4 separate regions of the Homo sapiens genome follow, and all the other regions are linked to region 1. The links are contacts of gene promoters, found by promoter capture Hi-C in blood cells and fetal thymus (Javierre and others, 2016). All regions are on one chromosome and are shown on one strand. The core of a region is centred on a gene start or on the middle of the fragment in contact, and the rest is flanking DNA. Distances in the headings are between cores, read along the strand shown. Region 1 overlaps UNC79 (unc-79 subunit of NALCN channel complex). Region 2 holds the start of ITPK1 (inositol-tetrakisphosphate 1-kinase). Region 3 holds the start of MOAP1 (modulator of apoptosis 1). Region 4 holds the start of COX8C (cytochrome c oxidase subunit 8C).

Region 1 (4,255 bases), core at 974-3,473:
CTGGAAAATTTACGAATGAAAGAAACCAAAATGGCAGTTTAAGATCTGATTTCCAAAATCGGGCTTCGGGATAATTCCTCAGCTCTGTTCATTTGTGCATAGGAGAGGGGATCATTTTTTGGCTGAGGCAGATCTAGGAAACTGTATTCAAATCGTGTGGAAGAGAAGCAAACATTTTGCAACAAATCAAATCAAGCAATGGCTCTCAAAGACGATCATGACATTAATGATGTATCTGTCGATTCACGTATATATATAAATGTGTATATATATATACTGTTTGTGCATACATATATATAAATCAACGGTATTAAAATGTGTAGTAACATAATAAAATTAAGATTTCACCCCAAACAAACGGTAGAGTACAACATTTCTGCATAAAATTACTAAGAGAAAAAATTCATACTTCTCTGAACATTCATCTCAACCGGCTGATATTTCACCATTTTGCTGCCGCCTATTCTTTTCAATCTTGCAAAAAAAGTTTGAGACTCTTTATTGCAGGGTCCAGTAGGTGTATCATGAATATCAGATTCATCAAAAACACTATCTTCTTCTAATTGGGGAGAGAAAGTCAAAATTACACTTAAGAGGTTATTCTCTCTTAGGCTGTGTCTACACAAGCATTTCAATGAAAGCATTATGGAACAAGGTCTGGGTTAGTTTCTGCACCAGCCCAAGTCTAGCCATGGGTTGGTATTTCATCCAGGCATCAAATTCTCCATCTATTGGACAGAGCAAGCTGTTACAAGATTGCCCATCACTTTTCACATGACAATTGGCAGCATTTTTAAGGAGAGGCTTCTTGAGAGTCCAATAGCGCCTTTTTGGGAAACTTTTCCAGTGTGCTTAACACCAGATGACACATAGATGTCAGCTACTTTTTCCAGGAGCCTGTGACACTGCTTGGACTTGTCTGCTTTGCGTGGATTTTCAGGCTGATTTGGCGAAAGGAAATTAAACAAAATGAGTGGATCTTGGGCTTTCCAAAAAAGAAAAAAAAATCTGCCTTTATGGGATTTGGTAACTGGCATAGACACAGCCTAACAGTACATGCACCTTATACGGTGTGAATGCAAAATACTGTACTCTACATTTGATAATGAGACACGCAACACACAGAAAAAGCTTAGAAAAGCCACTTGTCATCTCAAAAGCTCCACGAATGATTATGGACTGAAAGAGTAAACAAAGGAAAAAGAAAACAGAAAATAACATTTCCTCCTATTAAAGTAAGACTCTTCTCTGAGGCGCTTACCACGTGTAACTATTACGGATCTCATGAATCCCAGAAAGAATCTTTGACACTTATGATCCCTAATCCTACATAAACAAACCGGTCACTTTGAGTGCCTGTTGAACTTGTTTCTACGTCCTCCCTTCTACACCCATGTGGCCATTTTTAAATCCAAGATAAACCCCAAAATATGTTAATGAGGAAAGAGTTCATATGTTGCAACCCATAAAGTTTACTTAACCAATTTTCTTCTTTCGTCCTTTTGAAAGGCCAAAGCCACGTACAAAGTGGCAACAGAAAAGGCTACTAAAATGCATTTAATAGCATCATAATGAGTTTACCTACTATTCAAGTTGAATATCACTGAACTCATAATGTTTGGCCTGTATTTACATCTACCTATATGACAAATGAGGCTCAGGTGCGATTATGATTATTCAAGGTTTTTTTTAGCATAAGGGCAGTATATACATCAAGTTTTAAGGACTGACCCTGTTCTAATGCACAAAATTCTACAAGTAAATGAAACTTGAAGTAGTAAATTTTAGATGAAATAACCATACTAAACTTTTTAATTAAATAAAAATAAATGTTAATCAAAATGAATTTGTTTTTAAACCCAGTGAACTTCCACAAAGATGGGAATGCCTATCAAATTCCCATGTTTCTGGGGAAACGCAACACAATAATCTGTTTTACTTCTCTATTTCCTTTTTGGAAAAATATCCTTTGAAAAATGCAGTTTTTCCAACCAATAGTTACGTGACTTGCATTACATAACTTTGAAACAATTTTCAAAATGCATTGAACACTCAAGACTGAAAGACCACAAGATGGCGCCTCCCATCCAGAAAGGTTCATCAGGGTTTGGCCCAAACACTAAGCCCACGCTGAAAACATCCATAGCTTAACAGATCTCCCCAATTTGCCAGAGACTAAACCCTAAACTGGTAGACAAGATATTCTTTAGGAGGGATCTGAATGGTACCAGAACTTAAAGAACCTAGTTCTCGAGTTCCGTCTGTAGCCAAACTAGATTTTTGGAACTTTCAGCAATAACAAACAGGAACACTGGTACAATTTATACTTTTGAGGTATCTCCAGAGCAGTCCTACTAAAACAGACTCTACTAACCTCATAAAGGGTCAGTGGACACTTGGTTTTTTCCAAAGACTAGATTAAATGATGTCAATTTAAAATCTAGTCAGCCGTGACTTACACTAAAAACTAAAAATATACACCCTGGTTCTTCGTGTCTCACCTGAAAACAGGCTGCAATTTTACCCTAGCTAAAGTTGCATTCTACTGCCCCTTTTAGAAAAAGGTAGCAATAGAAAAAGTGTTGATAATGGAGATAGCTTACACCTATGCAGCAAAAATGTTTCATTTCCCTTGCCTTGAATCACTTTGTATTAAATTAAAAGTCTAGGAAAAAGCACTTCAGCAAACTTAGACTCCATTGAAACTCTATGAGCGCAAAGACCAGGGCAAACTAGAGACCTACAAAGAATGGCTCCACTGTGTGCCAACCAAGACTTATTTTATAGCCCAAAAACGAGATGCTTCTAACACGTAAGAAAAGGCTTACAAAGGCTCCTGATTCAAACAGCAGAAAATATCTTACAAAATATTATTTCTTATGATACAGGCTTTGGAAGCACATCATTTATTCCTCTTGAATGCTCAATTTCAAAGTTAAAGCAGCAACATTCATGGAAAGTTGGAAAATTAAGAAAGTGATTTTTTTTTTTACTCCAGAATGATATCTGGGAACACTCTTCTATCTCCTAAGAAAACATTGTCCAGAAATCTATTATGTATTGAAGCTAGGTTTGGGATAGAATTTAGATATGTACCTTTTTCTTTTTCGCTGTATCTGCTTATGTTACTGTTGTCACTGTACAAAGGTCCTGCCGTGGCATGGGGCTTGCAGCTATGATACTGCGCATTGAGTGTATTGACTGTTATGTGAATCAGATGCAGCAGGATCTTGCTGATATCACAGTCTCGGTATGGATACTGCCCAATGAAACGAGAGAGAAAAAGATAAATGGTTATTTTAGAGGGTAAGCTTTTCCACCTGATCTTGCTGGATACTTTTTGCAGTATCTCTTGGGGATAAATATATATATGAGAGAGAGAGAGAAGTAGAAACAAATTCTGCTCATGGCCTTATTTATTTGTTTAGTTAGAGACAGGGTCTCACTCTGTCACCCAGGTTGGAGTGCTGTGGCGTGATCATAGCAGCCTACCGGGCTCAGGTGATCCTCCCACCTCAGCCTCCCAAGTAGGTGGGACCAGGCACGTGCAACCATGCTTGGCTAATTTTTTGTAGAGATGGGATTTCACCATGTTGCTCAGGCTGGGCTCGAACTCCCGGAGTCAGGCAACCTACCCACCTCGGCCTCCCATAAGTGCTGGGATTACAGCAGTGAGCCACCACGCCCTCCCCCATGGCCTTATTTTTACAAGGGACCATATTCATTTCCTCCTTCACCAAACCACTGACAGCAATGCATGCCAGTTCATAGTTACATTTCTTTTCAAGAAAATTATCTGGCATAAACCTTTAGTGGATGAATACAATTTCAGATATCTTTTGTTTTCTGAAATAATAATACTTAGACAAAATACAAGACTGAGTATAAACAGAGGTTCTTGATCAGTAGCCTACCATTTATCATTCTTTGTTTTAAACATTTTTAGAGCATATATTAACAGGGCCTCCCATTTCTATTTTCATTTCAATAGCTCTTTGGTTCTTAACAGTAATTGCATATCCTGATCTTCCTTCTGAAGGTCAAACTTCTACAAAATTTTCAACTAAAGACTCAGGTGTTCTCCTAATGCTATATGCTCTCTAAGAGAACCATTGCATCCAAAACAGCAGTGACCACCCAGCTCACCTTGTAAAGGATGACAAGCAAGGCCTTCAACCACATCTGCCGGATGTGAGGCTTTAGGGACCAGAGGGAGCAACGAGGCGGCTGTTGGAAATAATGCCGGAGTTGAGGA
Region 2 (4,255 bases), core at 915-3,414, 500 kb after region 1:
CTGGCCTCGAACTCCTGATCTCAGGTGATCCGCCTGCTTCGGCCTCCCAGCGCCCAGCCTCATCCCGTGTTTCTAATCAATGGCTTGTGTCCATTTTCCTCTGCCACACACTGGGCTCTCGTGTGTTTGCCAAAGGAGTGAGGGAATTCCAGGAACCCTCCTGAACCACCCAGCCTCAACTGGTCTTTCAGTTCCTAAGAACAGCAGGACATTTAAAGTCGATGCCTGTAATCCCTACTGCTGACTTCAAGTATCAAGTTTATAGTTGCTGCCCCCATCCCCTTCGTTTTTACTCCCTTAGCCGCCTTCTTTTTTTTTTTTTTTTTTTGAGACGGAGTCTCACTCTGTTGCCCAGGCTAGAGTGCAGTGGCACGATCTCAGCTCACTGCCAGCTCTGCCTCCCAGGTTCACGCCATTCTCCTGCCTTAGCCTCCCAAGTAGCTGGGACTACAGGCGCCCGCCACCACGCCCGGCTAATTTTTTGTATTTTTAGTAGAGACAGGGTTTCACCGTGTTAGCCAGGATGATCTCAATCTCCTGACCTCATGATGTGCCCACCTCGGCCTCCCAAAGTGCTGGGATTACAGGCATGAGCCACCATGCGCAGCCTCCCTTAGCCTTCTTTTATCCATCTTGTGCCTCGGCCCTAGGGGTCCTTGCTATGATCTTCCCTTTATCCAGCTTTCCATGTCCCCCCCAGGAGCCAGGCATTCTAAGCCACAGAGCTGACCCTGGAACCTGTCACCACTTACCTTCTAGGCTCCCATGGCCTATGAAACTCGCAGTACCCTTGCCTAAGGCATGCAGTGCCCGTCCCTAGCTGGCCCCCTGGAGGAGTCCTGTTTCCCACCCATCGTCTTTTCCACTCTCCATCCATCCGTTTTCTCTACCTTGTTAAAGAAAAAAACTAATCAGATTCTCGTTAAAGATGGCAGGGAAGCCAGGCGGGGTGGCTCAGGTCTACAATCCCAGCACTTTGGGAGGCCCAGGTGGGAGGACAGCTTGAGGCCAGGAGTTCGAGACCTGCCTGGGCAACACAGTGTAGTCCCAGCTGCTCGGGAGGCTGAGGTGGGAGGATCAGTTTAGCAGGGGTGTTCGAGGCTGCAGTGAGCTATGACTGCACCATTGCACTCCAGCCTGGGCAGCATAGAGAGATCCTTGTCTTTCTTTTTTTTTTGAGACGGAGTTTCTTAATGTAGGCCGGCCAGGGTGATCACATACCAAGCGTGGAGATATTCTTGACAGCAGGATTCTGGCTAAAACTGGACTAAGAAGGCCAAGGACAGAGCCCAAGGTCGGGGCCTGGTCAGAAAGAGGTCTCGGAGGAGCCTGACTCAAGTGTGATCAAGGGAAGTCTTGGTCACCCGCTGGCAACTTGGCTTTTTCTTGTCTCCCAGCCTCAATTCAAGCTCATCCCCCTTCCCTGCTCCATCAAAATCTCCTTGATTTCCAAGGCCAGCTTCAGTGTCTCCTCTCAAACTTTTCTGAGCCTTCCCTCCACGGGAATCCATTTTTCCTGCCTGGGCCTGGGGAGAGAAGTCCATTTCTCCTTCCCAAACCCAGAGACCATTGAGGCAGGAAAGCTCCCTGGCTGCCCCATAGGGCAGGGCAGGGTAGGCGGGGTTTAGTGACTCCCCGGCGCCGACGCTGACCCGCACCCCTGAGGAAGGGGTCTCCGGGGACGGCCGCTGTTGTCGCTGTCGCCTCCAGTCCCCGCCCCTTCCCCCCTCAGTGAAGGGGACCTAGAGTGAGAACTGGTGGTCACGTCCTACGCCTAGGAGGGCCCCTGGGTGTTCACCCACCCCCCCGGGGGGCCCCATCCTGGGCCAGGGTCCGCTTCCTCGAGGGAAGGGGCGAATTCCTGGAAGGTCTCCTTCCGGGCGCAGTTGCAATGGATTGCCTTGGGGGTGCTGAACCCTGCTGGGGGTACAGAGACGTTTCCGAAACTCAGCGGCTCGGTCGCCCCCAAAGGCCAGGCGGAACACACGCCCACACCGCGGCTCCCTTCCCGAAGTAAGACCGCCGGGCCACGGCCGCCCCCAGGAAGCCCCGCGCCCCGCACCCCACACCCGGGGACACAAACAGGCGCCGGGTAGCCGCGAGGGCCGGCGCGGCGCCTTTAAGAGGCGGCGGGCGGCGCTGCCCCCTGGCGGCCGCCCCGCCGCTTCCTCGCCGCCGCGGGCTCAAGCGGGGCGGCCGGGCCAGCGCGGGGCGGCGGCGGGCAGGGGCGGCGAGTGCGCGGGCGCTCGCCGCCGCCCTTCTCGGCGGGCAGCGCGCGAGGACCAGGCCGAGGAGGAAGTGGCGGCGGCGGCGGCGGGTGAGGATCTCTGGCCGGGCCGAGTGGCCGCGTGCGCCCCGCCGGGGTCCAAGCGCGCCCAGGGGTTACGGCCCGGCTGGGAACATCAGAGGGCGAGGACCCGGGCGGGAGGAGGAGGGAGGAAGGGCTCGGAGGCCGCGCTTCTGCCGCCGCCTGAGGGCGTGTGGCTCGGGCCCGCGCGGCGGGAGGGCGGGCAGGGCGGGGGCGGTGTCTGCGGAGGCCCGGCTTCCCCTCCTGCGGGCCCTGGCCCCAGCTCCGACTCAGACTCAGGCTCAGCCGTGCCCCAGCCTCAGCCGGCAGGCCGGGCGGCGCGGCGCTCGCGAGCCGGTGGGCGGGCGGGCGAGCCCGCAGGCGGCGGGGGCGTGGGCGGTGGCAGCTTGGCCCAGCCAGTGGCCTTCCGCGCTGAGCGCCGCTCCCTCCTCCCGGCCGCCCGCCGCGCCCCGCCCCGCTCCGCTCCGCGCGGCAGGACTGCGCGCCCCAGCTCCGATCCCCGTTCCGCGTCCCCGCCGCCGGGAGGAGGTGCCCACTCGCTCGCGGCGCGCGCCGGCCGCCAGACTCGGCCTGTGGGCGATTTCCTCCGGACCCAGGCTCCCCGCCCGAGGAGGAAGATGCAGACCTTTCTGAAAGGGAAGAGAGTTGGCTACTGGCTGAGCGAGAAGAAAATCAAGAAGCTGAATTTCCAGGCCTTCGCCGAGCTGTGCAGGTAAGGAGGGACGCGGCGCCGGCGCCCGGGGACCCCCGGCCCGAGCCCGGTGACCCCCGGCCCGAGCCCGGTGCAGCCTCATTAGTTGTTTTGGGAGATCGGAGCCAAACGGGAAGAAGCGGCGCGCGGGGAGACTGAGTCCGAGCAGCCAGGTGGCGGTGGCGGCCGCCGGCCGCGTTCCAGGGAAGCGGTGGCCGGTGCGGGCGAGGTGGCACGGACCGGGGCGTTCAGGTGCACTGTGACCCGGCTGGGGAGGCCCCCAGCAGCCCAGGGCGCGGTGGGAGTTCTACTGAGGGTTGCGGAGGGACCTGGGAAATCGGGGCATCCACGCTGTGGGGTAAGGGCTTGAGGGTACTTTTGGACCGGAGTGTTTTTCTTCCTTCGTCCCCTTCCCTTTCATGAAGAAAGGGCACCCACGTTTGTGGACCACCTACTATGTGCCCCGCGTGTGCTCGGCTCTTGAGGCTGTCATTGCATATCATGAGGTTAAGCCCAGTTGAAGCGAGTAGCAATTCTTGGCATGTATGTGGTGATTTGCTGTCTCATTAGAGCCTCGCAGCAGCCCTGCAAATTGGCCAGGGTGGTGATTCTGGGCCACCTGTCTGAGAACGGGGACCGATCGGCAGAGGAGCGGGGTACCTAGCTTGGGGTCCCGCAGCTAGGGAGTGGCTGGTGCGTAGAAAGTGCTGGGTAAATGCCCGTGGTGTGGAGTGGCCTTCTGCCATCTGGGCTGTGTGCCCCTGCTCCCACCATGCTGGTGCTCCTTGGCGGAGTCTCCGGTGTTTAACAGATCACGTTCTTAATAAATTACAGAACTACTGAGTCTTGGGTCAGGTAGGCCTTCCCTTGCTCCACAACTGTAGCTTTGCCTCTGAGAAGCAGTTAAGCCCTTTTCTCAATGCAAGCCTAAGAGAATCTAGCTCTGAAAGCCTTTTGCAAACTCCAGGTGGAAACCTTTTGTGATGCAGCTTGTTAGACTGATTTTTGAAAATGGGCTCTACTTGCATTTTTGTCCCTGTGGGGGCCCCACACATCTTGGAGAATTGAACAGTTGGGTTTCCGTAACCCCTGGTGCTCCTGGGGGCCCGTGGCTGGTCTGAGCTGGCATGCGCAGGTGAGCCTGGCAGCACCTCTGTGTGCCTCATGCCTTTCCCAAGGGCCTGCTGCTCCTTTGCCCCGTGCAAGCCCCGCAGGCGCTCTTCCTGCAGCCAGAGGGGCACAGCTTGTACAGGATA
Region 3 (4,255 bases), core at 1,245-3,744, 430 kb after region 1:
GCACTTAGGGAGCCAGAGAGAGGAGGAAAGCTTGAGCCCAGGAGTTCGAGACCTGCCTGGGCAACATAGCGAGACCCCATTCTCCACAAAAAAGAAAAATATAAAAAATAAAACCATTAAAAGCATTAATAATAATTTAGCCATTACCAAGAGGAAGAACAAATTCTGCTTATCAAGACAGCCATTTCCTCAATAATTTTTTAGCAATGCCTCATAAGCTGACAGCAAGTCTAGACAGCTGGCTTAGCTGCAATAGAATGAATCGGTGTTTTAAGTGTGAAGAATTTTAAAGCAAGCCAAGTAATTGTATAAAATTTAAATTTTATGATCATGTCTGGACCTTTTTACACTTAACACAATGGAAATGTTCATATTCATTTTTTTCCCCAAAGGAAAAATTTCTGAATCATCACTATGTTGCACAGTAGAATAGAAATATGAATTCAGGTACTTAGTCAAGTTTCTAAAGAATGCAAATAACAGACATGATTTAACTTCCAAAATCTGAAGTCATCAACATGATTTTGTAGTACTCTATCTCAGGTTTTACCTAAAAATTCGTTATTATTCAGATAAAGATAGCTCCCTAATCACATGTTTTTAAAAAGCCTCTGCCCCACGACAACTTCCTGAGATCTGTGAAGAAACTGCAGTCTTGTGATCAGACTCCATATAGGACTGGCAGTTTTGTAATCGTAGGGAAAAAACGGTGACTGATTTTACGTGTCAATCAGTTGTAGTCTGCTGATCTGATTAGAAGCCTTGACAAATGCCTGGTGGCGATTGCAAATAACTGCCAAGCATATAGGGATGATACAGTAGCCCACTGTTTTGGGATCAGCTCTTGTACAAGAGTATAGGAACAAAAACATCTGTAAGTAAGGTACCAGAAAAATAACTGTCCACACCCAAAAAGGCAAGGAGAGTAATTGAGCTTTCAAGGAGTGTGTCCATGTGGTTCCTTCAAGGGGCTCCTCAGGGTGCTGTTGAATGTGTTCCAAGGCCAGCCTGTTGTAAGTCTCACTGATTTCAAAAACATAGTAAAATGCTGCTGCACTGGCTAACAGATACAATCCCACTCCAATCCATCCCATCCGCTGACGGAAGTTCATCATTCTCCATGCTCTGTGCCTTCAAATTAAAAAAGAAAATACAATTAGGGTCTAGTAATGCTGTCACGGCAACTACTCCAAATGTACTTGCTTTATCTCCAAGAATTCTAGGCCGGGCGCGGTGGCTCGCGCCTGTAATCCCAGCACTTTGGGAGGCTGAGGCGGGTGGATCACGAGGTCAGGTGATAGAGACCATCCTGGCTAACATGGTGAAATCCCGTCTCTACTAAAAATACAAAAAAAATAGCCGGGCGTGGTGGCGGGCACCTGTAGTCCCAGCTACTCGGGAGGCTGAGGCAGGAGAATGGCGTGAACCCAGGAGGCAGAGCTTGCAGAGAGCCGAGATCACGCCACTGCACTCCAGCCTGGGCGACAGAGCGAGACTCTGTCTAATTAAAAAAAAAAAAAAAGAATTCTAAAATATCCCACTAACACACTTAAGATTTAAAATAATTAAATTAAACACCTATTAAGAAATGTAAAACTTACAGGTTGTTTTGTGTAATACTTACAATCAAGTAAAACAACACACACAAAAAAACAAAAAACCATTGATTTCAGTATATACTGAGTTCTGCTTTTTAACGGGAATCCCTCAGAATAAATCACTGCATCCTACTTAAACAGGTCCATAATACCCGCCCTCCAGAAACTGGAATTAAACTAGTTTCTCACAGCACATTTCACTTTGACAGGTGAAACACTTTCTGGCATAACAGTACTGCTTCAGACGTGAACGCGGGGTGCTACAAGTCAAGCCCCCAAGTTAAGACAGTAACTCCTAAGCACTTACAATGGTCCCGAAAATCTTCCTGTTCCCACGGCAAGCGTTAAAGAGTCACTCAGCTCTGAATAATCGGGTGGCTTTGGCATTTCAGAGAAAGCCAACATAAAATAAATCCCCTGGGTCACCCGGCTAGGAGAAAGGTGAGCGCCGCCAGCCTGGAGCACCAGCTACTAGTGATTAAGAACGGCGTGACTGCGGCGGGTCACGCGCGGCCCGGCCCCCGTCGCCGCCGCCGGAGACCCGCTCTGAGAACCTGACCCGGCAGGGAGGCGTCCCCGCCACTTGGGCCTCCGGGCGGCCGGCCCCGCCCCCTGCCGCGCTGCAGCGCCGGCACGCCGCGACCAAGGCTGCGCAGGCGGCGCCAGGCCCGGGCCTCGCCGCCTTGCAGCGCCGCGAGCCCAGCGCCCGTCAGCGGTCGCCGGCGGAGCCTGCTTGCAAAGCTGAGGTCCCGGATCTCACCTTCCTGTCCCGTGGTGGCCAGCCCGCCCGCCGTCCCGGATGCCGCCGCAGTCGGAGCTTCCGGCTCGGGCCGGAAGCGCGCGCGCCCCGCCCCCGAGGCCCGCCCCTCATGACGTCAGATCGCCCCCGCCCGCCGCGCAGCTTCCCCGAGCGAGACCAAAACAGGTGGAATCCGGGCTGGAGCCGGAGCTCCGGCGGCGCGGGTGGCGGCACGTCCCTCCAGGTGGGTGGCTCTCTGGGTCTGGCGACTCAGCGCTCCTCAGCCTTGCCCCCTGGTGCCCGCTCGCGACTGTCATCGCCCCATCACTTCTCGTTGCAGACAGTACCACAGGCACCTGGAGTACCGGCATCGGTCGCTGTGGCCCCCGAGTGTCCGTCAGAGCCTAGGGGAGCCTGCCCTCCCGCGCCTCGTCGGGGCCCGGCCAGGCACCTTGGCCGCCGGCGCACGGACGCGGGCACGAGCACTAGATCACGGTGAGTGGAAGCGGGCCCGACGCGGCCCTGCAGGCCCGACATCCGCCAGGCACCAGGGCTGGGAGGGGTGAGGGGCGCGCGCCGCAGTGCGGCTGCCCTGGCGTCGCCGCTGGGGGCAGGGCGCGCGGGGCTTGGGGCCTGCACGCTTGCCCTGGACGTTGGCACCTTTAGCTAACCTGTCTGCTCTGTCTTGCAGGCTGCTGGACCTCGGCACGTTGACAAGATTTCTCTGGGGTACCGCGGAGGATTACTTTGAATTTCGGTGGTCGCCTGTGGTCTGGCATATTTAGAACTTAAGTCTATTATTTCGGGCACCATGACTTTGAGGCTTTTAGAAGACTGGTGCAGGGGGATGGACATGAACCCTCGGAAAGCGCTATTGATTGCCGGCATCTCCCAGAGCTGCAGTGTGGCAGAAATCGAGGAGGCTCTGCAGGCTGGTTTAGCTCCCTTGGGGGAGTACAGACTGCTTGGAAGGATGTTCAGGAGGGATGAGAACAGGAAAGTAGCCTTAGTAGGGCTTACTGCGGAGACTAGTCACGCCCTGGTCCCTAAGGAGATACCGGGAAAAGGGGGTATCTGGAGAGTGATCTTTAAGCCCCCTGACCCAGATAATACATTTTTAAGCAGATTAAATGAATTTTTAGCGGGAGAGGGCATGACAGTGGGTGAGTTGAGCAGAGCTCTTGGACATGAAAATGGCTCCTTAGACCCAGAGCAGGGCATGATCCCGGAAATGTGGGCCCCTATGTTGGCACAGGCATTAGAGGCTCTTCAGCCTGCCCTGCAATGCTTGAAGTATAAAAAGCTGAGAGTGTTCTCGGGCAGGGAGTCTCCAGAACCAGGAGAAGAAGAATTTGGACGCTGGATGTTTCATACTACTCAGATGATAAAGGCGTGGCAGGTGCCAGATGTAGAGAAGAGAAGGCGATTGCTAGAGAGCCTTCGAGGCCCAGCACTTGATGTTATTCGTGTCCTCAAGATAAACAATCCTTTAATTACTGTCGATGAATGTCTGCAGGCTCTTGAGGAGGTATTTGGGGTTACAGATAATCCTAGGGAGTTGCAGGTCAAATATCTAACCACTTACCAGAAGGATGAGGAAAAGTTGTCGGCTTATGTACTAAGGCTGGAGCCTTTGTTACAGAAGCTGGTACAGAGAGGAGCAATTGAGAGAGATGCTGTGAATCAGGCCCGCCTAGACCAAGTCATTGCTGGGGCAGTCCACAAAACAATTCGCAGAGAGCTTAATCTGCCAGAGGATGGCCCAGCCCCTGGTTTCTTGCAGTTATTGGTACTAATAAAGGATTATGAGGCAGCTGAGGAGGAGGAGGCCCTTCTCCAGGCAATATTGGAAGGTAATTTCACCTGAGTCTCAGGGAACCACGAAGGGATATGGCAATGAGTAGAGCATGAAGGTAGA
Region 4 (4,255 bases), core at 1,000-3,499, 270 kb after region 1:
GGGGAGGGACTTATTACATGCTAGGGGATAAATTACCTGCTGTAACTGCCCCAGGTGTGCCTGCCTACCAGACGGCCAGTCTTGCAAGTCTGCCATTAAAAGTCTCGCTTCTGCTGTTCTTCATGTCTCCAAGGGTTTGGCCAGGTGAATATGTGTTTCTCACAATTGGTATATCTGCTGTTAATCACTTATTGTGTCCGGAATTGGTGGGTTCTTGGTCCCGCTGACTTCAAGAATGAAGCTGCAGACCTTCACGGTGAGTGTTACAGTTGTTAAAGATGGTGTGTGTCCGGAGTTTGTTCCTTCAGATGTTCAAATGTGTCCGGAGTTTCTTCCTTCTGGTGGGTTCGTGGTGTCGCTGGCTTCAGGAGTGAAGCTGCAGACCTTGCCATGAGTGTTACAGCTCTTAAAGGCGGCACGGACCCAAATAGTGAGCAGCAGCAAGATTTATTGCGAAGAGCGAAAGAACAAAGCTTCCACAGTGCGGAAGGGGACCCCAGCGGGTTGCCCAACTTCTATTTATTGACTATTGTTTCAGGTACTATGTTGAGAGGTACTTTATCTTTCTTTGTTCAATGTTTTATTTCCACAACATCACTTCAAGACAGCAATTTTAAGTCCCCATTACAGAGATAAGGAAACCAAGACTCAGAGTTGAACTATGTTGCCCATGATAACAGCATCATCAACAGCTAAGACAGTTCAAAGATGTGTATGATTCTTCAAACCTCACAGAAGACTAAGAGAAGATAATAAAATCATTAAAATAGGAGATGTACTCATTCTTCACATTCTGACGTGTAGTCATTTAAAGAGGCAAAGAAATGGTTGTACTTCTCACAGCAAATTGTGAAGTGTGGCATGGCAGTACTAATAGAACATAAAAACCATTTAGCTAAACTTATATTACCTCACAGCTACACATCTAATCTTTTAAGGGTGATGTCACTAGATACATTCACTCCCATATAGTAACAATGTCACTCCCTGAGTCACTAAGTCAGACCTTTCACAGCAGTTCTCGGTAAATTTTCATCAGCTTTCACGATGTTTAGAAAATAATCTGCACACATATTACCAAGCACGAATAAGTGTTTCCGTTTTATTTAACACTTAAGCAGAACATTTTTGACTATACATCTATATAATGCACAGTACTAAAAAAGTGCAAAATATTCATCATAAACATGAGGAAAGTGAATACCACAATGGTTGCATCAACTCAACTAGGCAATTTTGCTCGTTAACAAAAACACAGCTTTTTCTGAAAGTTTTTTGGACGTTAACAGCTGTTCAACATCATCTTCCATCTAATTCCTTCTGAACTGCTTCAGGTTGCCTAGCACATATGCAGCTGGTGTTAAGAAGGTCGTAAAAAACACCACAAGTCCAACAGCCATTTCCTGGAAGAGAAGATGACACGCGCTGCTGAGTATGGCTTCCTAGGCCAGTGACTTGCTGCCTAACAAAAAGTGCTTAAAAAAAACATTTTGAGCACCTAGACCGTTGTCCTAGAAACAGGCGCCTAGTGAAATCTAAAATGCTGAAAATCGATTCATGGATCACCTGATTTTTTTTTTTAATTCATTTTTCATCTAAGGGGTCTCCGGTTCCAACCTTCGCACTCTGGAACTTCGATGTGGCCCAGGATTTCCACCATTTTATCGAAAACGCTAGATCTTCGCAGTGCCGAGGACGTCCGAGGATGGTAAATCATTCCTCCGCGAAACCACAGCCCCGCCCCCGAGCCAGGTGCCGGTAAAGGGTAACAACGAAGGAGGCCCAATCCCCGCGCGTTCCTCAGGGTCCCGGGCTTTCCGCCCCTGTGCCCGACGACGGCATCCTCACCGCGACCCTCTCCCAGGAACCTCCCCCAAAGGCGACCAAGCCACAGGAACCTCCCCCAACGGCGACCAAGCCACAAGAGCCTCCCACGCGAGGCCTGCACGCCGTGTCCTCCCTTCTCCCCACCCGTCGGGGCGCCCCGCCAGGGCCACGCGCTTCCCGCCCACCATGATGGCTGGGCCTCAACTCACCGCGGCAGACAGGGGCCGCTGGCGCGGGGGCCCCGAGTGGGCGAAGCGGGGAGCGGGCTGCAGGCCGAGCAGGGCCAAGCGGCGGTAGTGGCGGCGGGCAGGACAGCGCCCACGCAGGAGAGGCATATCGCGTCAGGTGAGACAAAGCCAGGCGTGGACAGCACAGGTGAGGTGAGGCCAAGTAACGCAAGCTCCAGTGCTCGTGAGGCAGCTGGTTTGCGCAGGCGCCCCAGCCACGAGGGGGCGCTCTGCCCTCGCCCCCTACCCCACCCCTTCTGCCCAGCACCTCCTGCTCTGCCCCGCCTCTTCCGCTCACCACTCCTTTCTCTGTACTGCCCTTTCCACTCAGCAGTCCGTGCTTTGCCCCACCCCCTCTGCTTAGCACCACTTGCTCTGCACCACCCCTTCCACCCAGCACACCCCTGCTCTGCTCCACTCTCTTCAGTTCAGTACCCCCTGCTCTGCCCCGCCTTTTCCACTCAGGGCTCCCTGCAACCTCCCAGCCCTCATTCACCTCACTTTCCACCCACGTGTCCTATCCTCTCCTAAACTCTCCTGCCACCCTCCCCTGAGCCCCAACCCCACCTCACACTAAGTATCTCTTTTCTGCAGGGTAAGGTGAGGGACTTGGCACCCCTACTCCTTTCCTTTGTCTTCCTCTCTACCTATACTTTATATACCTCTTAACATGCCCTGGCATTGGCAGAGTTTATAGCACACTGTTTCTAATGCAAATTAAATCTTCCATAAAATGTCTATAGGTTAATTCTTAACACTGAAAACCAAGAACAAGTTTCTATAGTCGGCTGATGATATAAAAAATATTCATGGCAGGGTCAAATAGAGTGTTTGGACCCAGTAGAAACAGTGATGTAATTATCTGTCACTACGGCTAATTTTCTTATTTTTTTGTAGAGACAGGTCTCACTGTGTCACCCAGGCTGATCTCAAACTCCTGGGCTCAAGCCATCCTCTTGTCTCAGCCTCCCAAAGTACTGGGATTACAGGCATGAGGCACTGTGCCCAGACCCTCTTGAGGGAAAAGTAAATATACTGTGATTTTTAAATTTAGTACTGTAATAAAACTTTATCCACTACAATGATCCTGTGTCTTCACATTATTTCTTTTGGGGGCCTATTGCACGAGTAACACTCTAGGGTTTCTCTGGATTCCTCTGTTCCTGCAGCCTGGTATCTTCCTCTTTCTTAGATTTCTTTTCGTTTTGCTGTAGTACATCCTTAAGCTGTTCTTTCAGGAAGGGTTTGTAGGTGATAAAGTTCCTCAGTCCTTGGAAATCAAAATATATATATATTGGTCTCCATTTAAATGCTAATTTGAATGGTTATAGAACTCTGGGCTCAAAATCATTGTCCTTCAGAGATTTTCAAAAGGCATTGTTCCTTTCTTTTCCAGCATCTAGTGAGCCGATAAATATAATGCCAATATAGTTGTCATTCCTTTGAGTACCCTCTTTTTTCCTTTTGGGAATCTTTTAGGCATTCCTTTTTGTCTTTGGAATTGTGACGTTCCTCCAGGATACTGTTAGATATGGGTATTTTTCCATTCATATGGATTAGCAGTGGGTAAGACCTTTCTATCTGAAGTCATGGTTCTTTAGCCATAGGAGCACTATTCCTATTTATTTGCTTCTCTGTTTTCTTTGTTCTCAACCTAAAATTCTTATTGACGGACACTGGCCCTTCTTAGCGGGTCACCTCTGTCTTTCAACCTTTTTCTCACTCATCAACGTTTTGTCCCTTGTTCTACATTTTGCAGGATTTCCTTGACTTTTTCTTCTAGCCCATGATTTTTTATTTTAGAATTATAGTTTTAAAACATACTATTTTTTGCTTTTACAGTCACCTGTTAGTATTTTATAGATATTATCACTTTAGATTTCTTTCAGAATATTAATCTGAACTTTTAAAAAGTTATCTCTATTCCATGAACTGTGTTTCTTTAGCGTACATTCTATTTATTTATTTTGAACTTGCCAGTTTTATTCAAGTATCTTATGATCCTTGGTTGTCATTTCATGCTTATGAATATGAAGAAGCAGGTCAGTTACTTTTGTTCCTTTCTGTTACTGTCTCAGTCTGTTCAGGCTGTTACAATACAACAGACTGGATGGCTTATAAATGACGGAAATGTATTTCTTACAGTTCTGGATGCTAGAAATTCAAAATCAATGTGCTGGTAGATTTGATGTCCAGTGAGG

The links. The method cuts DNA at HindIII sites, captures the fragments that hold promoters and counts their contacts. A CHiCAGO score of 5 or more calls a contact.
Region 2: a contact is called between the fragment with the promoter of ITPK1 here and a fragment that was not itself captured in region 1, in 2 of 17 cell types (total B cells and naive B cells). The highest score is 9.3, in total B cells.
Region 3: a contact is called between the fragment with the promoter of MOAP1 here and a fragment that was not itself captured in region 1, in 1 of 17 cell types (M2 macrophages). The highest score is 6.7, in M2 macrophages.
Region 4: the fragment with the promoter of COX8C here is called in contact with a fragment that was not itself captured in region 1 in 1 of 17 cell types (M1 macrophages); the score reaches 5.5 in M1 macrophages.

The regions. Positions count from the first base shown.
Region 1 is chr14:93,617,196-93,621,450 of GRCh38, reverse strand. It overlaps UNC79 (unc-79 subunit of NALCN channel complex), which reads right to left. Exons shown (of 52, transcript NM_001395159.1): 29 at 4,147-4,255; 30 at 3,097-3,259; 31 at 410-559. Among named protein-coding and RNA genes, the nearest start is that of PRIMA1, 170 kb to the left of the region's middle. The HindIII fragment of the contact is 2,180 bases long and covers 1,134-3,313 here.
Region 2 is chr14:93,113,834-93,118,088 of GRCh38, reverse strand. It overlaps ITPK1 (inositol-tetrakisphosphate 1-kinase), which reads left to right and starts at 2,164. Exons shown (of 11, transcript NM_014216.6): 1 at 2,164-2,317; 2 at 2,784-3,020. The coding sequence starts at 2,926. The HindIII fragment of the contact is 12,611 bases long and covers 1-4,255 here.
Region 3 is chr14:93,183,136-93,187,390 of GRCh38, reverse strand. It overlaps MOAP1 (modulator of apoptosis 1), which reads left to right and starts at 2,494. Exons shown (of 3, transcript NM_022151.5): 1 at 2,494-2,581; 2 at 2,678-2,832; 3 at 3,029-4,255. The coding sequence starts at 3,149. The coding sequence ends at 4,204. It overlaps LYSET (lysosomal enzyme trafficking factor), which reads right to left and starts at 2,074. Exons shown (of 2, transcript NM_001098621.4): 1 at 1,906-2,074; 2 at 1-1,131. The coding sequence starts at 1,985. The coding sequence ends at 720. The HindIII fragment of the contact is 7,901 bases long and covers 33-4,255 here.
Region 4 is chr14:93,345,176-93,349,430 of GRCh38, reverse strand. COX8C (cytochrome c oxidase subunit 8C) reads right to left here and starts at 2,249. Exons shown (of 2, transcript NM_182971.3): 1 at 2,037-2,249; 2 at 1,075-1,403. The coding sequence starts at 2,162. The coding sequence ends at 1,311. It also overlaps a transcript of UNC79 not described here. The HindIII fragment of the contact is 4,764 bases long and covers 476-4,255 here.